5 separate regions of the Homo sapiens genome follow, and all the other regions are linked to region 2. The links are contacts of gene promoters, found by promoter capture Hi-C in blood cells and fetal thymus (Javierre and others, 2016). All regions are on one chromosome and are shown on one strand. The core of a region is centred on a gene start or on the middle of the fragment in contact, and the rest is flanking DNA. Distances in the headings are between cores, read along the strand shown. Region 1 has its middle 86 kb from the start of URI1. Region 2 holds the start of C19orf12 (chromosome 19 open reading frame 12). Region 3 overlaps URI1 (URI1 prefoldin like chaperone). Region 4 overlaps URI1 (URI1 prefoldin like chaperone). Region 5 holds the start of UQCRFS1 (ubiquinol-cytochrome c reductase, Rieske iron-sulfur polypeptide 1).

Region 1 (5,207 bases), core at 726-3,225, 310 kb before region 2:
TATGCAGGTGTGGGAGCATGGGATATATGGAAAATCTCTGTACCTTCTGCTCAGTACTGCTGTGAATCTAAAATTGCTCTTAAAAAACAGACTTTTAAAAAAATTAGACAAAATTATCAAAAACAACTACTTTTCACCTCTGAGTATTGACCAAAACATAGGACAAATGGAGAAGTGTTTATTCAAGAAAACTACTGAAAGTTGGGTAAAAATGATGACAGTATGTGGCATTGTGACCACTCTCCCTCACCCCAGCTCCTTCAGACAATAGTTCTAACAGGGTGGGACAGCTTGTAAAACCAGAAGCATTTATACTGTAGGGAGCTGACTCAATCTGAAACAACGTGGAAAAACCCAACGCCCAGGGGCTTTGTTAAATATAGCAATTTCAGTGCCAAACATAGGAGAGGTCCACATACATCATAGATGACCTGAAGCTGAAATACTATAGCTGGGCCAAAAAAGAGATCAGAAGAAAAAAATTTTCTGCCTGGAGATTTAACAGAAACAATCAGGAAGTGAGACAATCATAGTCCTTGATAAGCTTACATTTTGAAAGGTAATGGGCATATTAGGGTATGAACATGCTGAGAGACCAGAGAAGGCTCTAACTATATACATACCCCCAGGGAAGACTCGTAAACTGCATAAATTTTCAGTGTGTTCCTCAAACAAAACAGAGACTTTGACAAAGGATGAAAGTCTTACCAAAACAAGATGCCTAAGTACAATCTCTGACCAGTCACCAGCTGATCACTAAGATATATTGATCCAAGGTGACCCATAAGTAGTCAAACATAACTGAGGAGAGACATCAGAGGCCACACGCTGTAGAGAAAAACTCATTATTAATCTTGGCCAAGTCATAAAACAAACAAAAAAAGGGACAATAACCCCTGGCAGGAGAGTATCAGAAATAAATGCTGTTACAATGTATTATTTAAAATGTCCAGTTTTAAACAGGAAAGTATGGCTTATCTAGTATAAAAAAAAAAATACTCAGTATAAACAGAAGCTATTTCCAAGGGTTCCCAAATGTTGGACTTAACAGACAGACTTCAAAGCAGCCAATAAAAATACATCTTCAAAGAACAAAAGAAAACCGTGTTTAATCAAAGCATGAAAACAATGACTAATCAGAGAACACTTAATAAAGAGATCAACATTTTTTAAAAAATGGAAATTCTGGAGTTGAAAAGTAACTAAAGTGAAAGCTTCATTAGAGGGACAACAGCAAACTTGAATGCAGAAGGAAGAATCAGTGAACTCAAAGATAAATCAATACAAATTACACAATCTGAAGAACAGAAGTGAGAATGAAAAATGAACCAAGTAGGAAATCTGTGGGTTACAATCAATACCAACATATGCATAATGGGAATCCCAGAAGAAAAGAATAGTGAGGGCCATACAAGTTTTGACATCTTTTGAAGAGTCATAGAAGTTTTTAATGTCTGAAAACATTCCAAATTTAGTAAGAAGTATAAATCTGTATATCCAAGTATCTCAATAAAATCCAAGTAGAATAAACATTAAAATATCCACACCGATACACATCAAAATCTTGAAAGCAGCAAGAGAAAAATGGACTTATCATGCACAGGGGAACCCCAGTAAAATTAGCAGCTGACTTCTCAAAAGAAACAATGAAGGCCAGAATTAAGTGGTATAACATACTCTACTGTCAAACAAGAATTCTAAATCCAGTAAAACTATCCTTCAAAAAAGAGGACAAAAATAAAGATCTTCCCAGATAGACAAAGAGAATTTGTTGCCACCAAAATTTTTTTTACAAGATATGCTAAAGCAAGTACTTCAGGCTGAAAGGAAACACCACCAGATGGTAACTTGAATCCACATAAAAAATTAAAGTACCAGTAAAAGTAATTATGTAGGCAAATGTAAAAAATAGAAAAAATACTCTTTTTAAGTTTTCTTCTCTTACTTAAAAGATAATTGCATGGAAAAATAATGAACCCATATAGTTATAAATAATAAACCTGTACTGTTATAAAATATATTACAATAATAGGACAAAGGAAAAAGAGACTAGAGCTATGCTGAAGCAAAGTCTGCCAGAATTAAGTTAGTATTATTCTGACGCAGGTTATAATGTTACAATGCATCCTATAAACTCTAGAGCAACCACTATAAAATAACTCATAAAAAAGAGTAAAGCTCTCTTCTACTATGTGAGGACACAGGAGGCCATCTGCAGCCCAGGAAGAGAGCCCTCGGCAGGAACCAAATCAGCTGCTAACCTTGACTTCCCAGTTTCCACAAATGTAAGAAATAAATTTGTGGGTTTAAAAAAAAAAAAAGTACAGTTTCTTTTTGTAAAGGAATTCAAAGTTTATACTAAAAGATTTATTTAACATACACAAAAAAAGGTAACCAAGGAGGAACAGAGGAACAAAAAAGACATGACATATAAAAAATGACTAACAAAATGGCATGAGCTATTGATATGTAAATGAGCCATATCAACAATTACATGAATTAACACACATTTCAATAAAAAGACAGGCTGGCAAAATAGACTTTTTAAAAACAAAATTCAACCACATGCTGCCCACAAGATACAAATGCTAAAAAGGATGAAAAAAGAGATACCACATAAGCATAACCATAACCAAGGTGGAGTGGTCATAATCATATCAGACAAAACTGACATAGGCTTTAAAATTAAAATGTTACTAGAGAAAAAAGGGACATTTTGTAATAATAAAAGCTTCAATTAATCAGAAGATATGACAATGACAAACATATATGTACCTAACAACAGAGAAAAAAATGCATGAAACAAAAACTAACAGAACTTGAAAGGTAGGACTATTTAACAATAATAGTGTAAGGCCTCAGTATCCCACTCTCAATAACGGATAGCACAAGTAGACAAAAAATCAGCAAGAATACAGAAGACAACAATAACAATGACCTTGACATGACATCAACAGAACACTCCATAAAACAACAGAATACGTATTCTTTTGAAGCACACACAGGAGAACATATGCTACCCATTTTTAAAAAGTCCTAATGAATTTTTAAAAACTAAAGACATAATAAATGTTTTCTCCAGACACAACACAATTAAAGCAGGAACCAACAGAAAGAAACTTGAGAAACCCACTAATATTTGGAAATTAAACAATACATATTACAGTAACCCATGAGTCAAAAAAGACATCTCAAGAGAAATTAGAAAATATTTTTAACTACAGAAAAATTAAAACAAATCAAATGTCACTGGATGCAGCTAAGGGTTAGTGCCTAGAGGTCAATTTATATCTTTAAACACCTACATTAGAAGACAGTAGTCTCAAATCAATAGATTAACACCTTTAAAAACTATAAAAGGCAAGGAAGAAGAAAGGAAATAATAAAGATTAAAGTAAAAGTCACTGGAATAGAAAACTAGAGGAAAATCAACAAAATCAAAAAGTTTCTCTGAAAAGGTCAATAAAACTGACAGACCTATAGTTAGAATTACAAAAAATATAGGACAAAAATTAGCAAAATCAGAAGGAAATCACAGGCCAGGCACGGTGCCTCACACATGCAATACCAGCACTTTGGGAGGCCAAGGCAGGAGGATCACTTGAGCCTAGGAGTTTGAAACCAGCCTGGACAACATAGTGAGACCCTGTCTCTACAAAAAAAGTAAAATAAAAAGGAAATTGCTGCCAACTTAAGAAATTAAATGGATTATAAAGGAATACTTTGGACAACTTTATGATGACAAATGCAATAATTTACATGAAATGGACAAATTCCTACAAAGAGTCAAATTATCAAATGGACTCAAGAAGAAATATAAAACTTAAATAGACTTAAAATAAGAACTTTAATAGCAATTACAAATCTTCACACAAAGAAAACTGCAGGCCCAATGGTTTCACTGATGAATTCTATCAAACATTTAAAGAAGAAATAGTACTAGTCCTTCACAAATTCATCCAGAAGAGTATACTTCCCATCTGATTTTGTGAGGTCAATATTATCCTTATATAAAAACCAAACAAAGACATCACAAAAATAGAACATGACAGATCAATATCCCTCATGAATATATACACAAATATTCTCAACAAAACATCAGCAAACCAAATTCAGTAACATATAAAAAGGATCACGCACATTAAAAATGGGCTTTATCCCAGGAATGCAGGATTGGTTTAATCAGAAAATTAATTTAATCAGAAAATTTAATCAGAAAATTAATGTATTATACTAAAGAAGGAACAAGGGCTGCATAAAAAGCGTCTGAAAAATTCAACTCCATTCATGAAAGAAAACTCCAACAAACCTACGAATAAAAGGAATTTTTCTCAATCTAATAAAAGGCAGCTACAGAAAACCTATAGCCAACATCATACCTACTGATGAAAGGTTGAATATCTTCTCCCTAAGATTGGGAACAAGGAAGGATAGGTGTTCTCACCCACTTCTATTCAAGGTTTACTAGAGACTCTAGCCAATATAATCAGGCAAGAAAAAGACAAGGAATCAAGATTGGAAAGAAGTAAGATTCTCTATTCACAAATGACACAATCCTATACGTAGCAAATATTAAAGAATATACAATCACACACATACACTCACTCACTCTCCCTCTCACACACACCCCCTTGACAAGAACTAATAAATGAGCTCAGGAAGGTTGCAGGATACAAAGCCAATATACAAAAATTAATTATACATATATTATCAACGAACAATTCAAAAATGACATTAAGGAAAAAACTCCATTTACAACTGCACCTGAAAGAATTAAAAATTTAGGAATAAATTTAACGAAAGATTTGTAAACTGAAAACAATGTTTTGAAAGTAATCTTTTATACACACTGAGAGAAACTAATCAAGATATAAACAAATAAACATTCCATGTTCACAGATTCGCAGACTCAATATAAGCATGGCAATTCTCCCCAAATTCATCTACAGATTTAACACAATCCCTGTAAAAATCCCAAAAGGCATTTTTGCAGAAGTGGGTAAGCTGACCTTAAAATTTATGTGGATATGGAAAGGGCTCAGAATACCCCAAAAAAATTTTGAAAAAGAACAAAATTGAAGGGTTTAACAGTTCCATATTTGAAAGTTTGTTGTAAGTAAAGCCACAGTAATTAAGACCACTGGAAGTGATATAAGGACAGACAAGCACTCAGTACACAAACAACCTTATGCTTATAGTCAACTATT
Region 2 (3,304 bases), core at 805-3,304:
TGTGTGCTGGGCCAGTGCCATTTCCGCGCCACCACCGAGACCCCACGGCACGCCTTGCTCACTGTGCAGGAGGCCGCAGTTGCCTTTAGGAGCATGAGGCACTGTGTGCTCCATCTCTGGGGTTCAGAGTGTGCGGTCATGTTATGCCTGCATTCGTATCAGAATGAGGCCCAGGAGGCTGATGGGTTGCAGATTTGCATGCAATGGCGCGATCTCGGCTCACTGCAACCTCCATCTGCCGGGTCCAAGCGGTTCTCCTGCCTCAACCTCCCGAGTAGCTGGGACTACAGGCTTGCACCAACCATGTCTGGCTCATTTTTCCATGTTTAGTGGAGATGGGGTTTCACCATGTTGCCCAGGCTGGTCTCAAAGTCCTGGCCTCAGGTGATCTGCCCGCCTCGGCCTCCCAAAGTGCTGGGATTACAGGTGTGAGCCACCGCGCTGGGCTGCATGAACCTCTTACATGCTTGCCTTCTCTGGAGGGCCTGGACTTTGAAGCTTCTTTCACTCCCAGCATCTTTCCCTACACAGGCCCTCTTCCCCACTATCTCTGGGGGAGGAGTCTGCAGGCCAGTTCTGCAATGTGCCGCCAGAGGGAGCTGCCCGCAGAGAAACGGGAGCGCCACACTCAGGCCCCAGGAAGGCAGCAAGCTGAGTTCCCCTGGCCTCAGTTCACTTTCCCTCTTGAAAGTCACCCAAACTCAAGCAAAAGCTCCGATTCAGGAATAAATGGGGTTGTTTTATCCCAGCCAAGGCCTGGGGAAGCTTGGTATTAAGAGCGTTTGTTCCATTCTTTTAAAAATGGAAAAGGGTCCGTCCTCTGGGTGCCCATGGCACCCTGGAAAGCAGGCAGAGTGCTGGTCACAGGCGGAGACTTTGAGATACCGAGACCGAGGCTGGAGTTTGGGCCCTGAAACTTTCTAACCAGGATGGCCTTGGGCAGAGCAGCCTGTGTTTAGAGCTTCCCATCTGTAATATAGCAGTGACAACCATGCCTGCTTTGCAGGGTTCCTGTTAGGATTAATTCTCTATAGAGCCCCCCAGAAGCCACTTTTGGATTTGAGATGGTTCAAGGCCAGACCTTGCATGACAAGAGTAGGGACAGCTTTCCACAGGCCTCAATAAAGTAGTATTCCCAGGCAGTTCTGCAACCCCAGCCTCATGCCCTTTGCACCTTCCTAAGAGGCTGCCTTGCCTCAGCTTTGGTCCCCATCCAAGACTCCTAAGAGCAAAGCCAGTTCTTTTCCTTTTTTTTCTTTCTTTAAGAGACGGTCTCACTCTGTCACCCAGGTTGAAGTGCAGTGGTGGGATCATAGTTCACTGCAGCCTCGAACTCCTGGGCTCAAGCAATCCTCCCGCTTCAGCCTCCCAAAATGCTGTAGGTCACAGGTATGACTCACCCACCCGGCCTAATTTTTATTATTATTTGTAGAGATGGGATGTCACTGTGTTGCCCACGCTCGAACTGCTGGGCTCAAGCAATCCTCCCTCCTCAGCCTCACTGGCAGCTGGGATTACGAGTCCCACCCAACCTGCTTCTCCTTTTGCAACCCCCAGACCCAGAGGCTCCAGAGCAGGCTCTGGAACAGAGGAAATCTGGCTCCGGCCCACACATTCACCAAATACTGACGCAGCACCCTTGACCTCCAGATGCCCCTGTGCTCTCTTCTGTGCCCAGGCTGCGGGGAGAGAGGGGTCCTCCAGGCCAAAGGGAGGGAGGTCTCCGGGAGGTCCCCGCGGTCCTGGAGGCAGGTGCGCGGGGCCCGGATGTGATCATGCGTGCGCGTGGGAGAAAGGCAGGGCTGGGCCTGCGGGAGCGCGGCCTTGCGGTTCCCAGGACTCTTCTCCGGGCGCCTCGTCTCCTTACGCCACCCGCAACCCAAGCCAGGGCCCCGGTGACAGCGGCGGGGTGGGCCAGGACCGGGGAGGGGGTGCCCAGCAGCGACCCCCGGCTCCCCCTAAGGCCGGGCGCAGCTCGGAGCCAGGAGCTGGCCCGGCGCGTGGCTTCCCGGAAGGCCCGGCGCAGCCGGAAGGTGGGACGGAGGGCGGGGCCAGCGCCGGGGCCGCCACCAAGGCCTGCGCGACCCTCCGCGGGGCTGGGGAGCTGGGCGGGGAGCCCGGGGCCTGCCAGGCCCGGGCTGCAGCCGCGTCTGATCGCCGAGCGCGCCGCGTAGACCTCCGCTCCCCCAGGTAAAGGAGCGCCCGGAGCCGGGGCGGGGCGCCTCCCAGGCCGCGCCCCGCGAGAGGAGGGGGCACCCCAAGAGCAGGCCTGGAGACCCGGGAGTGCCTTGGGGAGAGGGTCCCCGCCCTGCCGGGAGCCCGGCCCTCCCGGTGCCGGGGTGGACACTGTTAGTGTAGTCATTGTCCCTATGGAGAAACTGAGGCATGGAGAGGCTGAAGTCACACAAGTAAGCAGCAGAGCTGGGACTAGAGTCCCGGGCCCTGGCTCGCTGTCACCCAGGAGTGGCGTAGGCATGGGTGTGGTGGGTGGGGGTGGGGTGCGGGTGGTGGATGTGGTGGGAGTGGGTGAGGTTGGGTGGGGTGGGGATGTGGGTTTGGCGGGGGTGGGGTGCGGAATGTGATGGGTAGGGGTGGGGTAGAGTGGGGGTGGCTGGTGGGGCAGGGGCGGGGCTGGGGGTGGGGTGCTAGGTATTATAAATGTGAAGCGGATCCTGACAGGACACCTGTGGGGCAGCGGAGCTGGGCTGAGCCATATGGGAAGAAAATCTGGGCGCTAGTTTAGATTTGGTCAGGAAGGGTCGTTAATGCTTTAGGAGGTGAGATTAGTTTTGGGGATGGCAGGTAGTTTGTTGAGCTTTTGTTTAGACAGTCTTGCTCTGTTGTCCAGGCTGGAGTGCAATGGCGCGATCTCGGCTCACTGCAACCTCCACCTCCCTCGTTCAAGCAATTCCCCTGCCTCAGCCTCCCTAGTAGCTGGGATTACAGGCGACACCACCAAGCCTGGCTAATTTTTTTGTATTTTTAGTAGAGACGGAGTTTCACCATATCGGCCAGGCTAATCTCAAACTCCTGACCTTGCGATCCACCTGCCTCAGCCTTCTGCAATGCTGGGATTACAGACGTGAGCCACCCCGACCAATTTTTGTATTTTTTAGTAGAGACGGGGTTTCACCATCTTGGAATAGCACCTGTAGTTCCAGCTACTCGGGAGGCCGAGGCGGAAGAATTGCTTGAGGCCAGTTCCCGACCAGCCTAGGCAACACAGGGAGACTGCGTTTCTGGAAAAAACAACAACAACACCAGCAACAACAAAAAGCAGGAAGGAAGGGGAGAGGGAAAGAGA
Region 3 (5,252 bases), core at 249-2,748, 300 kb before region 2:
TCCATCCCCAATTACCATTTAATACACTGAGTATAATACCATTTAGTAAAAGCAATGGAATTTTTAGATAAGGTTATATATATGCATGTATCTTATTGTATATACAAATGTGTACACTGGTTTGATCCAGGCATGGGTTCCCCAATCTTCCTAAATACTTTTTAAATTGAAAACTTCAAATACGCACCAAAACACAAGAATGAAGAAATCAATAGCCTTATATTTCACAGACATCCTTATTTGGGGATTTCCTAACCTCCCCTGCACCACCACCAAAAACTGTAAGAAGTGTGGTGGGTGAAAGTGTATTGAGTGTGCACTATTTTTTCTATGGACAGGGTCTACAGCTTTCATCAGATTATAAAACAATTCCATAATCCCCCAAGAGTTAAGTTTCACTGGTACAAGGTAAAATATTAGACTTTAGGTAATTATCTGCTATGCATGCATTATTTTTCTTTAACTTAGCCAAGGTATTTAAAAGAGAATAATGTAATCTGCTCCTTACACTATCAGAAAATGACCTACTGGTAATTTATTTAAAATAAACTGCGAAATAATTTCCTAGCTACAAATGTAATACATAATGCCAAGTAAGACATTTTAAATTTCCCATTTTGCTGAAATAGAACGTTAAGACAAGTAATGTGTTTATCAAAAAATAAACTATTTGATTATCACAATATTTGTACTGTTTGTGACTATTAATTTTTTATTAATTAGTACCAAGAAAGTATAAAACCTAGAATTAATTTAATCTTATGACTTTTCAGATTAAATAGCTAAAACTGGTCAAAGATACTATATGAAATAAAGAATTAAAAGATACACACACACACCTCAGGTGTTACTGATAAGGGCAAAAGTTTCTTTTGATTTTCTTGTGGTTCCTCTTCCAAAATGCTCTCACTGGTGTCACTGCAAGTGGCTTCTTCGCAGCTGATACTCCTCAAAACTCCCCGCCTATCATCAAATTCAGCAGCACTGCTTTCACTAGTGTCGCTACACACACTATTCTCTCTACTTCGAGACTTCAGGATGGATTTGCGAGGGACATATTCTCCATTCACAACATCAACAAAGGCTCTGTGATATTCAAAACACATATGCATTCACTATACGTAACTCATAAAACTGAGAACAACTTTTTGAAAATTTCCTTGAATCTATTCTAGAAATTAATCTGAAAATTTTTATTACAATCTTATATCTAAAATAGTCACAATCACAATAATTTTATAGCCTCAAATGGTATCTTCATACTATTTTGAAAGCTATTTCTCTGGCCTAATAATAAAACACAGCATGTTATTTATTTATTTTATTATACTTTAAGTTCTAGGGTACATGTGCACAACGTGCAGGTTTGTTACATATGTATACATGTGCCATGTTGGTGTGCTGCACCCATTAACTCATCATTTACATTAGGTGTATCTCCTAATGCTATCCTTCCCCCCTCCCCCCACCCCATGACAGACCCCGGTGTGTGGTGTTCCCCACCCTGTGTCCAAGTGTTCTCATTGTTCAATTCCCACCTATGAGTGAGAACAAAAACACAGCATGTTATTTTTAAGCATGTCCTAGGTGGCAATAGCATGGTTTGCCAAAATTCTACATAAAGTTTTAGACCCACGTATACATTTAGCAATTTTCACTGATTTATAAATAAGGGTCATAAAAACAGTAGGTATTTTCAAGTGATAGTTTTCTCAACAAACAATTCCAAAAAAAAGGAAAAAAAAAAAAAACCTGCAACAGTATAATTTCTACTCTGAAAAGGTAAACTGCATGCCAAGCATGTTACGGCTGTGGTAGAAACGTAGGGACCTAGCCCACTGGAAACAAAAATGCTTTCTGAAGATACAAGATTTTCTGACTAGACCATTTGGAAATGTTTCAAAAGCACTGGTGAAGAGGAGAAAGTGAAAAAAAAAAAAAATCCTCCATTCCCACTGCTCTGGACTGGGAAGCTACAGCCGGTCAGCCTATCAGATCCTAAGTTAACTCCTCAGAACACTTCACTTTTCAGTGAGGGTCTTCTGTGTTACAGTCAACTTTCTCCAGTAAAGGTTCAGTGGCAGAAAGAGAGGCAAGCCCAGCAGACTGCCCTGCAGCTGTGAGCGCCTCCCACCTGTAAATGTCTGCAGGCGTCCTGATGGTCGGCAGCTCCTGGGCAGAGTGGCCACTGCCAGTGCTGTTCTTTCGTTTACGTTTGGCTTCTTCTTTCTTTTCACTGAATTTTAAAGTGGTATTCTTTCCAGTATTTATTCGGACCTAAAATTTCAGAGCAAGAAATTAAGAATCTTTTGACAAATTAAATCAAAGTGAAACCAAAACAAATAAACTCTATAACTAAAAAAATAATAGTAAGAGAGGCAGCTGAAATTTTCTGATGCTGAAATGATGTGCATTATCAGATGGAATTTTTTAAAAAGTCCTTATCTCATAGATCTATGACATCTAAAGAAAATCTTCTTTATTAACAAATCCTAGTCTTCAGTGTCTTTATTATTGTAGAGAAAGCAAAATACATTTGAACTAAATGCTAGATTTCTTATAAACTTCCCATCACCCCATTCCTTTGATATAAGTGTTTGGCTTGAATTATGTATTTCAAAAGAAAGAGTATAAACAAAAATTCAGTAAGAATACAACCTTTAAGTCATAAAAGTACTATTAAATAATGCCTATTTAGAATTTTTAAAACATCTCTAATTTTTAGAAATTGAAGGAGTAAAAAAATAAAAACCAAGCCTGTTCAGGGTTCACATGGGGTTAACATGTTATTTTTCTATCCCTAGTCAGCACTTAGAGCATACTTTCCACAATAATGACCACTATTACCTGTAACGTTCCTGCAAATAATATTTGTTCTTTCTGTTTTATCTAAATGAAAACAGGAAAAAAGTAAAAGCCTGGCAAAAGATTAAAAAGCGACCTTTTTTTCTGGCTAATCATCTCAGTCAACTTTTCCCGAAGAATCAGGGGAAGACCCCTTCAGTCTGACATATTAGAATATAAAAACACAAACAATTATTTCACTTCATATAGGAGCAGGAATAACTTTAGGAAGCTAAGAAATATCAAATATGTTTTAAACATATTTCACTAAATAATAATCACACACACTTAAGAATGATACCACAGACCCTTAACTGATACAGGCAATCGGGATATTGTGTAGAAAGGGCACTCAGAGGCGAAAGAGTTCCTGTTTTGTTACCAACCAGATCTATGTCTTCTAGGCCTTAAATTTCCCTGAGAAAGACGAATTAGACGAATTCCCAGTGTCCCCTTAGAGCAGTACATGGAGCAGAGAGAGGGCAAAGATGGACTTAAGGCAGCCTATCCTTCCTTCAATCAGAGCCAAGCTGCTTTGATCTATTTTAAATACTGGGATTCTACAGTAAGTATGGAGGGAACAAAAGGCTTTTCATACTAGAGAAAAGCTTTAAAACTCTGTATTAGAAAATCTCCAGTCACCCCCAGCTCTAAAATGCCAAAATTCTAAGTCATGATTATCCACAGATGTTTATATTTACTTTGTCAGAAAAGAAACTAATTTTTACTTCCTCCTACATTTTCCCTTTGTGCCTATGAAGTATTCATTTTATGTCCATAGAAAACAACCTGGCATAATTAAAAATTTAACTAATGCAGTCACTTTCAACATCCTAAGCACACCAAAATGTCCACAATATAATTAACTCCAGGATTCTTAAGAAAACTCTCTGAATGAAGGACAGGTGAAGTTACAGTAGTTGCCACTCAAATCTGATCCCCTTCCAGACCCCAAACAATGCATTGTTTCAGAGAACAATGGACCAATACCAGCTAACTAAATTTTTTTTCCCTTTTTCTTCTTAAATTGGTCAGAACAAGAGGCAAAAGATGATTTTCCTGTCTGGCACTATCCACAATGATAATGATTGTTAATATTGCTCTTCTAAAAAATATCATAATGCTTAATGTTCAAATTATATGCAAAATTAGTAAAGTTAAAAGTATACAAACCCTCTTAGGCTCAACAGTATGTGAAAAATATATTGTTGGTATAGAATTATCTCCAACCCCTAAAGCCTCATGGTCGTTATCACCATCATCGTCGTCAATGTTGTCGTCGTCGTCGTCATCATCATCATCATCATCATCATCACTGTGGTAAGAACTGGAACCATTCACTGAACAGTTCAACTGACTATTCACTTGACCACTGAATGGTTCTGAACTTGCAACATCCTTATGACAAGGAGTATGAGAGTCTGTTACTTGATGCATCGCATTCACATTTGTGTTACGATCTTCCTTTTCCTCTTCAGAAGATGTCGTATCTTCTCCATTTGCAATCACAGTATCAGGCTTACTAGCAAGGAAGAAAATTAACAAGATCAAACAAACATACTAGAATTTTACATTATTTAAATTTCCAGTTAGTTTCCATGGGTAAATACTAAGATCTTGAATAAAGTATTTTTAAAACTAGAATTCTAAGTTCAAAAACAAAAAAATGTTTTGAAATAAATTAACAAAAAACAGTTCCTATGCTGCTTCTATATATTGAGGTTATTCAGACATAAGTAGAATATAGAAGATAATTTTTTTATCTTTGCAAGAAAGATATTGGCCATATGCAATATAAATATAGTATCAATAATAATAAAGTTGTAAGAAATTCAGAGAACATTTATCTCTAAAGACCAGAAATTGAAACCACATAATACACACTTATTTTCTACTCCTATACTCAGAATATTTTACAATGAGCATGTATTATTGTAATTTTTAAAAATAAAGGATTTATACATATGCACACGAATATATCTATATGCATGAGTGAACATTTATCATACTTGATTCTATAAAAGATGTGAGGACCTTACAAAAATAACAAAATTGAAAATGCAACAGAACTGAAATAACATCATACAAAAAATAGAAAGAGAATCATGACCAAGAAAAATCACAAGATCCAAAACTGGTTTTAAAAAATGAATAGTATTAGTTAATCAAAAAGACCTAAGAATTTATAGGTGAAACACTAGGAAAAAGAAACTTTTATGCTTCCTGCCCTATTTTTCACAGAAACTAATTATTGCATATGGTACATCATTTAAGCAAAATAATATAGAACTTCTCGAGTAGCAGATTTCATTTAGCATTTTAACAATTCTAAGTGTGTGCTAATGTGTATTTCAAACAGCAATTTCGTAAAGTTTCTCATACATATAGCTATCTGACCAGATTACAAA
Region 4 (5,424 bases), core at 36-2,535, 260 kb before region 2:
GAAGCAAGGCAATAAATTTTTTACAACTCACATGCATACGATTTACGATTGTAAGTAATGCCTAACATAAAGATGAACTGCCAGGCATCACATGTACTATTTCATTTCATTCTCACCAGTCAACATAAAGGACGGAGACTTCCTTTTTGTGTGTGTAGGACCTATTCAATAAAGTCATTGCAGTGCATTAAAAATGACCATTAATTCTTTTTCACGCCTCCTCTCAACAGGTGGGTGTTATCTTCCCACCTTGTGAATCTGCGCTGGCCCTTCCTTTGACCAACATAACGTGGCCTTGCAGCTTCCATTCTTGCTGCTGAGATGCCCATAGAAAGTAAGCTGGACAAAAGAGCACATGGAGGCAGAGGCTCAACCAACAGCACTAACCACCAGACTTGAGGGTGAGGTCATTCTGGACAACAAAGCTGACCCAGCCACCAACTGGCTGCAACCAAAGCAGTGAGCCCACACAAGACTAGCAGAAGAACCACACAGGTGAGCCCAGCTTAATATGCACACCCACTGAATCATGTGCAAGTAAATGGTGGTTGTTTCAAGCCACTAAGTTTTGCAGTAATTTTACTAAGGAGCAGTAAAATAACAGATATATCATCTTAGCAAGGATATATTTTGAGTTCAGAGCTATACTCTCAGTCATGTAGCAATTATTTATTTAAAAAAAAATAGTTCCAGGTCTCATTTAGTAATCCTAAAAGTTAAATGTCTGACATACAGCAAAATGTATGGAATGAGGTAAAGAGGAACTGTTAGTTAATGATACAGGGTAGGTATAGTATTAAATGAACAGGTACAATCTGATTTCATTTTTGTCCAAAAGGATGGGAGCCGTATATAAACATGTAGATGAATACACACACACAACACACACACATACATACACAAACACTTACATTATGCAAACCATTTCTGAAAAGATTTATGAGAAATTGGTAAAAAACTGCTGTTTCCAGAAAACAGAACTGAGGGGCCGGGTGCGGTGGCTCACACCTGTAATCCTAGCACTTTAGGAGGCGGAGGAGGGTGCATTGCCTGAGCTCAGGAGTTCGAGACCAGCCTGGGCAACACGGTGAAACCCCGTCTTTACTAAAATACTAAAAAAATTAGCTGGGCATGGCGGCACGCGCCTGTAATCTCAGCTACTTCGGAGGCTGAGTCAGGAGAATAGCTTGAACCCGCGAGGCAGAAGTTGCAGTGAGCCGAAACCATGCCATTGCACTCTAGCCTGGATGACAGAGTGAGACTCCATCTCAAAAAAAAAAAAAAAAAAAAAGTAAACAGAACTGAGAATTAGGGGACAAAGTTAGGAGGAACCTATACATCATTTACATCCTTTCATACCTCCTAAATTTTGAAACATGTAAATGTATTGTCTCATTAAATATTTTTTATTTAAATCTTAAAAAGTTAATATATAGTCTTTCTTGTCTCTTAAAGATATATACTGAAATATTTCCAGATGGAATGATACGGCTTAGATTCATTTCAAAACTGGAGATGGGATAGGCAAAATAGTTTTTATTAAAAAGTCAAAAAAGAACAGATGTTGGCAGGACTGCAAAGAAAAGGAATGCTTTTACACTGTTAGTGGGAATGTCCAGCCACTGTGGACAGCAGTTTGGAGATTTCTGAAAGAACTAAACTGAACAACCATTCAACCCAGCAATCCATTACTGAATACAGACCACCCAAAAAAAAAAAGCATTCTGCCAAAAAGATACATGCACCTGTATGTTCACTACCACAATGATCACAATAGCAAAGCCATGGAATCAATCCAAGTGCCCATCAACAGTGAACTGGATAACAAAAATGTGATACATATATACTATGGACTACTACACACCCATAAAAAAGAAGAAATATTTGCAGTAACATGGATGCAGCAGGAGGCCACTATCCTAAGCGAACTAATGCAGAAACAGAAAACCAAATACTGTATATTCTCACTTATAAGTGGGAGCTAACCACTGGGGACACATGGACATAAAGATGGGAACAAATAAACACTGGGGAATACAAGAGCGGTGAGAAAGGGCAGGGGCAAGGGCTGAATAACTGCCTACTGGGTACTATGCTATCTGGGTGATGGGTTCAATTGTACCTCAAATCTCAGCATCATGCAATGCACCTTTGCAACAAACCTCTACATGTACCTCCCAAATCTAAAATAAAAGTTAAAAAAAAATTGGAGGTAGGAGTAGATGGCAAGATAAGATGTTGAAATGAACAGTTTAGAGAAAATCATGAGTTGATGATTATCAAAGCCGACTGATGAGTACATGAGGATTCACTATACTACTCTATCACCTTTCATTTGAAATTCTTCATACCAAAAAGTGATTTAAAAATATTAATGTAAAGCTGTAACAGTAATTCACAGAAACCCAACTCTCTCTCCATCATGACAAAAAAACAGAATGAACACTAAATATTCACGAATATTTACAAAGCACTGGCTTTTTTTTTTATTTGTCTGACAATTAAAATTTTCAAAAGAGGTATATGGGTTCCTATTAATACTTATTGAGTGCCGGGCAGGGTGTTCTACAGACATGATCTCATTTGATCTTCACTACAACCCTGTGAGTTAAGTAGTATCATCATCACTTTACAAGAAAAAACTGAGACTCTGAGCATAATTGTTCAAGGTCAAAACGCTAGTAAATGACAGGATTCAAATATAGGTCTGTGACTCCAAATGCCATGCTCTTTAAGGAAGAATTAAAAAGAAAATTACAAATAATCCACAAACAAAATAATCAGCCACTAGTGGACCAAACAGTGGGAAGTATCCTCATACTTTAAGGAGGTAACAGTGTGTGGATTTCATAATACCTTATTTCCTGAGTTAGTTAAAAAGGATTATAAAGAAAAAAAGTTTGATTCAAAAACATTTTTTAAATCCTCACTAAACTGAAAACCATTATTATTAGCTCTAAAATAATGTACAAATTCTCATCCAATAGGCTTGAATCTTTCCTTTTTATCTGTTATTAACTAAACAAATATTATAAATTTCTTCGTTCACCAAAGTTCTAGGATTTAAATTAATTTTCTCAAAGATTTTTTTGGGTAGATCCTGTGGTCCCAGACCATTTTCACTCCTATTTTTCTATAAATATTTTTACTCCCTGTCCTACATTTTTTTTTAAACAAAAACCAATTTAGATTATTTCTGAGCCTAGAATACATATACTTGTTCCTTAAAGAATCCCTTAAAAATTATACAAACAAGCATAAACATCACCAGCATAAGAATGCATTTTTCAAACCATATATTTTGTTCTTCTTTACTATACTGGTGCGTACTCATAAAGAATAGGGGCTTAACAGAAATTATATTTTAGACTAGGCTAATACCAAGGGTTAAGTAGGAATTAAAGCAACATGCTTTTAAAAGTAGTGTGTGAGACACCCTAAGAACGGCTCCAGCCTCTGAACTCCTGTAGTTGCTTCATATCTCCGCAAATAGCACAAAATTATCGTGATTTCCCTGTTATATGTCTGGCTATGAATTCTTCTATGGCAGGGTCTTTCAATTCCAAACAGCAGCACAATACTGGCATATGGTAGAAACTCAACTATTGTTTGAGGAATTAAGAGAATGCAAAAATATCACAAGAATTCCACGACTCTCCCAAACAGCAATTTCCTTGCTTTCAGGGAAATGGTGACACTTTGGTTTCAATTTTTTGATATAATGAATTGATTAATTTACTGGCCATTCAGATTTGAGCAATATACCATGTATAGATCTTCATTAAAAGCAAAGAGAAAAGTCTGTTTCCTGAACCAAACCAGAAATGATTCAGAGGAAAATGCAAATTTTAACTGGAAAAAAATAATTTTTTAAATGTATAAAGTACTATATTACTTCAAGATATGTGTAGGCAAATATGCTAAGCTTCTACAGTTTAGAGGGTTTTACAAAACTGAAAAGTGAAATTGAGGGTCACATGAACCTGCCATGAAGTAAATGTCACATTTCTGTCACTGCTCACTAGACTTGTGCACTACTAGAGTATTTGTAAACTAAAATGTTATATAGAAAATAACCACATATTTGGTCATTTACTCAAACATTTATCAAGTGCCTATTTTGTGCCAAACATAGCAGTAGGGGCTGTGAATAAAAGGATGAAAACGTGCCCTTATCCTTAAAGAACTCTAATAAGAATCTTATAAAACAAACCAGAAGCAAGTTACCATTCACCCATTTATGTAAACTAGCATCTATTTCCAGTGAATACCTTTCTAATTTCCTGAACTTCTTACCAAAACCAATAGACAGAAGTCCACGTTAATAAACTTCCTCTGGAAATTATTTGTAAAATGGGCCACTCTGACTAAATGTGCAGGGGAAAAAATTCTTTGGCCAACGACTTGTATTTCAAGTTTTAACCTGAACTGAATGTATAATGAAAGGCGAATGGTCCATTATGGAAATGCTAACACACTTACACCACCAGTGGAAGCAACTACAACGATGCATTTATTGAAAATTAATGAAGTCCTGAATTTTTACTTATAAAGTGGATATTATTAGTTTTAGATTATTTTCTGCAAGCCAATAGTCAAAATTTAATAAGATGATGTGTACAGATTGCACCAATTTTCACTCTTATCCACTGCCTGCAGCCTATGTGCATTTAAACCAAAAAACATTTGATATACACTAACTATAAATTATTTCCTTGGAGATCTCTCAGGCATGAAGAAAAAGCCTCTTAAAATAAATTTAAAATATTATATGCTTGATGGTGTATAACCGAAGGTTTAATCTCACCACTAAAGGGGCAGTTACCATGATTTTTGCAATAACCCTGCAGACAATAATCAAGACAGCTCCTGTTGTTCTCTCAGTAAAACCTTCGTAAGCACAGCATGGATATATTGTAATTTGATATCTGTAAGATCAACAGCTATACTTCATGACAACTCATAATATAAGATTTTATTCACCATTAAATCGAGCATTTTCCTCAGAAGCCAAAGGAAAGTGTGTTATTTACCAAACATGGTCCTATTAACTATAGATTAGCACATTAAAATAGATATGCTCTCTCTTAAAAAAAAAAAAAGTACAGTCAATAAAACAAGCTCTGAAAAGTAGAAAATTAGATTTTTTTTTCAAACTTTGGGAAAACATTTCTGTGCCCTATTTCCATCATTATTTTAAAGTAACTGATTCCCATTATTTTTCTACTAAAATGTAAGAAATATCCCCAAAATAGAGCTAAGTCACATTCAAAAATGTCTCAGTCTCCAATTCATAATGATATTAATATTATTCTTAGAAAAGAAAAGGCACTTAGAATAAATACAAGTGGTAACACAACGTCAGGAAATCAGAAATGTGTAATTCAGAAAAGGGTCAAAGACAATATAAATTAGTATTAAAGG
Region 5 (5,063 bases), core at 1,089-3,588, 500 kb after region 2:
ACCCAGGTTGGCCTACAGAAGTCCAAGTTCCAGTATGCCTGCCACTCCTGGACATTGGCCTCCTTCTTCCACGAGAAGACAGCTGTTCGGCCATACAGTTACCCATCTCTCTGCTGCAACGCTGGACTCGAACACCACTACCAGATGCGTTCTTATCAATGTGTCTTTGGGCATGTCATTTGTCTTCTCTGAGTCTTAGTTTCTTCATCTAGAAAATAGAAAGTTATTATTATTGCAGATATTTACATACTGTGTGCCAGGCACAGTTCTAGGCATTTTACATGTATTAATCCATCTCATCCTTAAAATAACTCTCTAGGGTAGATCCTGTTATTATCTCTGTTTTACAAGAGAAAGACGGAGGCACACACAGAGATTAAATAACTTGCCCTAGGGCACAGCTAGTGAGTGGTGAAACTAAAATTGAACCCAGGAGGTCTGGAGATAATTCCTATTCTGTTCACCCAACTGGGACATTGTGAAGGTTTTGTGAAGGATCATTCATTCATTCATTCATTTTTCATTTCCTTACCAACTCAGAGGGAATTGTGATATTATTTCTTGTGAAGCACTCAAACCATGCATGCTGTGTGACAACTTCTCTGGAAATGTCTTTTATCCTAAGGTTGTTGCCAAGGGAGAGCACTGAGCCAGCTGTGTGATGAGCCTGGCTAGGGTGGCCCCTGAGGAGGCAGCCTCCAATCTTGAGAGTACAATATAGTCCCTTGGGCTATAAGGCTGGTCAAAGCCTAGGCCCTAAGGGGAGTCATAGGAAGGTCAAAGGGGAAACCTGTCAGTACACTTTGGACCTGGCATGAGGAATAACAACGAGTCAGCAAGGATCAAGGGAAGGCTTCTTAGAGGAGGTGGCATCTCAGATAAAAACACCACTAGCAAATCCTCACTTGGTGCTGCCTGTGTGCTGGGCCTGCTTGTAGATGCTTTACACGTTTTAGTTCATTTACTCCTCCCAGTAACTTTACAACACACATGGCATCATTACTGCCCCCATTTGGCAGGTGAGGAAACTGAGGCACAGAGAGGTGAGGGAACTTGCCCAGATCACAGAGCCCATGCACAGCACAGAGCCAATTCTGTGCACTGCTTATATTAACATTTACTTAATATTTAAATTATTTTTGACCTAAATGAAAAACTTTATCTCAGTATAGTACAGAATAGAAAACCAGTATGGATAGAAAATCAATACTATGAACCATATAATGAAATCACTCTAGACTCAGTTCTCTGCTAAGAGCTTCTAACTCAAGATCTTTTCTGTTAAAAGTGGGAGATAAGTGTAGAGAGGAATTAAAGATATATTAGGATCAAACTGAGGCCAAGTGAATTTGCTCATGCCTATAATCCCAGTACTTTGGGAGGGGGAGACAGGACTCCTTGAGGCCAGAAGTTCGAGACTGGAGTGGGCAATATAGTGAGACCTCATCTCTACTTTTTTTTTTTTTTAATTAAAGATGTATTAGCACCAAACTGAGACTTTCTCATTGGTGCAATCAGGATTGAAAAACAAAACAAAAGAAAACAAAACTTTCTCACTATGTGATGGAACATGAATGAGCGAGCTCTGTGCATCCTCTAAAATTCTAAAATCCTACTTTGGGAAACAGTGGTGGCACTGAAGAGCATAGACTCAGGAGACAGATTACCCTGCTTCACATCTTGCTGGCTATCCAGTTCCTGGAAAAGAATCTCTCTAAACCTCGGTTTCTTCATGGGTAAAATGCTGATAGTAATAGCTCTGACTTCATAGAGACCTTGATAACAAATGAAAGAACGTAGGTATAATAAAACGCAAAACCAAATACACAGTGAATACTTAATAAACATAATCCATTAGCATTATCGAGCTTTGCACAGATGCCTCTGGCCTTTTTGTTGTTGTTGTTGTTAGATGAAGATAATAAAAATCATCATAGTAAACACATAGCGATTACTATGTGCTGGACTTCGTCGTAGTTGAGATATATTACCATCCTAAGTTAAACTATAATCGTTTATTGTTATCTCTAGGTCTTCCTAGATGAAATTTTTACCCTAAAGGATCGTAAAGTCGGCCCACCGGACGTCAGTGGGGTCCCCTGTTCAGCCCTCTCGTTCTTCTGGGGATCTCTCGGGACACTGACGAGGTGGCACCGGGACCTACAGGTGGGCCGCAAGCCCCGCCCCCAGCGACGGCTTGTAGCCCCGTCCCCCGACGCAGCGCCTCTCCAAGTTTGCCCCGCCCTGCAGGACTGCAGAATTTCCTTTCCGGCGGCGCGCTGTCGTCACGCGTCCCGCGCCTCCTCGCGCCTGCGCCGTGGTTGGAAGGTCGTCCCTGTGACCGGCTTGGCGGTTGGAGCGGCTGTCGCCATGTTGTCGGTAGCATCCCGCTCAGGCCCGTTCGCGCCCGTCCTGTCGGCCACGTCCCGCGGGGTGGCGGGCGCGCTGCGGCCCTTGGTGCAGGCCACGGTGCCCGCCACCCCGGAGCAGCCTGTGTTGGACCTGAAGCGGCCCTTCCTCAGCCGGGAGTCGCTGAGCGGCCAGGCCGTGCGCCGGCCTTTGGTCGCCTCCGTGGGCCTCAATGGTGAGCCGGGGCGAGGGCCGCGAGCAGGGCTGGGGGTCTCTCGGTGCCCGCTCCTCCGGCCCCCAGCAGGGAGCGGCCGCGGGCGCGCGAGCGGAGCCTGAATCAGGTCGGGCTGGGCGGCCTCCGCAACTCTGGGCCTGGCCCCCGGGCTCGGGGCGTCTTTCTGGTGGCCGGCCTGGACTCGCGTCCGCCGGCTTCGCCTGGTTCCTCCTCGGCCGAGTTCACGAGCTCTGTAGTCCCGCTGTTCCAGCCACCTCTGAGGGGTTTTGTTGCTTGCAGGTCGTTTGACCTTGGGCGAGTTTCTAAACGTACTTCCTGTGAAATGGATTCATATCTTTATCAATTTTGTAGGGGTGTCGTGAGGCTTAGGTGGAGGAATTCTACGTAAAGCCGTTAGCACAGTTTGGGCACTTACATGCTTAAGAAATGGAAACTTACTAATATTTGGGAAGTTGGTCTTCTCACCACTACCGATCCCTTCATGTCCTTCCCCTTCATCACCCCCCCACCAAAAAAAAAACAAAAAAAACATACACAAGGTCAGTTACAGTGTAGTGTCACAACATAATCAGTCGTCAAGGACGGGCAGAGATTGACGACATTTACATTTTACAGATGAGAAAACAGACGAGGTAGAATGACTCGCACCAGGATCCGTGGTGTGGACATGTGGTAGCAGGGATTTGACAAGACGAATTGTCGTAGCCACTGAGCTCTTCGCAGGGGCTATTCCACACCCTCTGTCCTTAGATCCCCGTTTATCTTCTTTGCCTCGCCTTCCATCTTTACTTGGCCCTGTATCGGAGATAGAGAAATGGCAGCCTGTGGGCAGTGTGTCTGCAGGCTGTGTAGTTTTCAAAAAAACTGGGAAGACTAATGGCATCTCTTAAAATGCTGGAAGCCGGTAATACTGGGATCTAGTTTCTACTTGGGAAAATTCCATAGTGTGCTGTGTAGTGGCCGCCCCCGCAGTTGGAGCAAGTGGTCTTCTCCAGTTTGTCACAGTCTTTACCAGGTCTGCGTGTTTCATTCTGTTACCAGCCTGGCTCCACTGATAGCTGTTTGTGACTCTTCCCCTACACGCTAACCAAATTGCCCGCCACTTTTCTTTTTACTCTGTCTTCATTCACCCTGGGCTCTGCACTTTCTTCATGGTCCTTCCACTAAGTTGCTACATGTCCATATGTTTTCCTTACCCATCTTTTCAATCTCAGTTAAGGATCAGGTGAATAAAGTTTTTATTTGCTGATTTGTCTGTCTCTGTAGCACATACACTTTACACTCTGTATTGTGTTTATTGGTAACTCCTCCACCCTTGGGCTTAAGGGCATAGAGAAGGTAATATCTTCTTTATTTTTCTATCTTTCACAACGTCGGATTTTGTATACAGTTAGTGCAAAGTATTTGTGAATGAATATTTGTTAAGGAGCATCAGTGGGTTTTGAAGAAACTGTCCATGGCAGGTGTAGAGTACCCTAGCCCATCCTTGGGACCTGGAGGTGAGAAGGAAGGAAGGAGAACATTTCAATAGCAAAAGAAAAGCATCTTTGGAATTCGTCGTGTTGCTAAAGTTTCTTCAAAAAATTGGAGGCTTACATTTCTCTGATGGCCAGTGATGCTGAGCATTTTTTCATGTGTTTTTTGGCTGCATAAATGTCTTCTTTTGAGAAGTGTCTGTTCATGTCCTTCGCCCACTTTTTGATGGGGTTGTTTGTTTTTTTCTTGTAAATTTGTTTGAGTTCATTGTAGATTCTGGATATTAGCCCTTTGTCAGATGAGTAGGTTGCAAAAATTTTCTCCCAATTTTTAGGTTGCCTGTAAACCACAATGAGATACCATCTCACACCAGTTAGAATGGCAGTCATTAAAAAGTCAGGAAACAACAGGTGCTGGAGAGGATGTGGAGAAATAGGAACACTTTTACACTGTTGGTGGGACTGTAAACTAGTTCAACCATTGTGGAAGTCAGTGTGGAGATTCCTCAGGGATCTAGAACTAGAAATACCATTTGACCCAGCCATCCCATTACTGGGTATATACCCAAAAGACTATAAATCATGCTGCTATAAAGACACATTTACATGTATGTTTATTGGGGCACTATTCACAATAGCAAAGACTTGGAACCAATCCAAATGTCCAACAATGATAGACCGGATTAAGAAAATGTGGCACATATACACCGTGGAATACTATGCAGCCATAAAAAATGATGAGTTCATGTCCTTTGTAGGGACATGGATGAAATTGGAAATCATCATTCTAAGTAAACTGTCGCAAGGACAAAAAACAAACACTGCATGTTCTCACTCATAGGTGGGAATTGAACAATGAGAACACATGGACACAGGAAGGGGAACATCACACTCTGGGGACTGTTGTGGGGTGGGGGGAGGGGGAGGGATAGCATTGGGAGATATACCTAATGCTAAATGATGAGTCAATGGGTGCAGCACACCAGCATGGCACATGTATACAT

What was found. Contacts are between HindIII fragments. The CHiCAGO score rates a contact against its expected background, and 5 or more counts as called.
Region 1: a contact is called between a fragment that was not itself captured here and the fragment with the promoter of C19orf12 in region 2, in 2 of 17 cell types (non-activated CD4 T cells and naive CD4 T cells). The highest score is 5.4, in non-activated CD4 T cells.
Region 3: a fragment that was not itself captured here is called in contact with the fragment with the promoter of C19orf12 in region 2 in 5 of 17 cell types (activated CD4 T cells, total CD4 T cells, naive CD8 T cells and 2 more); the score reaches 6.7 in activated CD4 T cells.
Region 4: a fragment that was not itself captured here is called in contact with the fragment with the promoter of C19orf12 in region 2 in 3 of 17 cell types (total CD4 T cells, naive CD8 T cells and non-activated CD4 T cells); the score reaches 5.8 in total CD4 T cells.
Region 5: the fragment with the promoter of UQCRFS1 here is called in contact with the fragment with the promoter of C19orf12 in region 2 in 4 of 17 cell types (naive CD8 T cells, total CD4 T cells, total B cells and 1 more); the score reaches 7.7 in naive CD8 T cells.

Annotation. Positions count from the first base shown.
Region 1 is chr19:30,025,533-30,030,739 of GRCh38, reverse strand. No RefSeq gene overlaps it. Among named protein-coding and RNA genes, the nearest start is that of URI1, 86 kb to the right of the region's middle. RefSeq lists enhancers at 1-322, 388-437. The HindIII fragment of the contact is 1,517 bases long and covers 1,217-2,733 here.
Region 2 is chr19:29,714,011-29,717,314 of GRCh38, reverse strand. C19orf12 (chromosome 19 open reading frame 12) reads left to right here and starts at 2,054. Exons shown (of 3, transcript NM_031448.6): 1 at 2,054-2,190. RefSeq lists enhancers at 695-914, 1,460-1,559 and a silencer at 1,730-2,519. The HindIII fragment of the contact is 2,629 bases long and covers 768-3,304 here.
Region 3 is chr19:30,008,119-30,013,370 of GRCh38, reverse strand. URI1 (URI1 prefoldin like chaperone) reads right to left here. Exons shown (of 11, transcript NM_003796.3): 8 at 4,018-4,366; 9 at 2,135-2,277; 10 at 840-1,086. Among named protein-coding and RNA genes, the nearest start is that of URI1, 69 kb to the right of the region's middle. The HindIII fragment of the contact is 3,913 bases long and covers 1-3,454 here.
Region 4 is chr19:29,971,368-29,976,791 of GRCh38, reverse strand. The region is part of intron 2 of URI1 (URI1 prefoldin like chaperone); the gene reads right to left. Among named protein-coding and RNA genes, the nearest start is that of URI1, 32 kb to the right of the region's middle. The HindIII fragment of the contact is 5,284 bases long and covers 1-3,927 here.
Region 5 is chr19:29,210,426-29,215,488 of GRCh38, reverse strand. UQCRFS1 (ubiquinol-cytochrome c reductase, Rieske iron-sulfur polypeptide 1) reads left to right here and starts at 2,338. Exons shown (of 2, transcript NM_006003.3): 1 at 2,338-2,584. The coding sequence starts at 2,371. It overlaps UQCRFS1-DT (UQCRFS1 divergent transcript), which reads right to left and starts at 2,236. Exons shown (of 2, transcript NR_184022.1): 1 at 2,081-2,236; 2 at 1-208. RefSeq lists an enhancer at 2,155-2,394 and a silencer at 2,435-2,744. The HindIII fragment of the contact is 13,970 bases long and covers 1-5,063 here.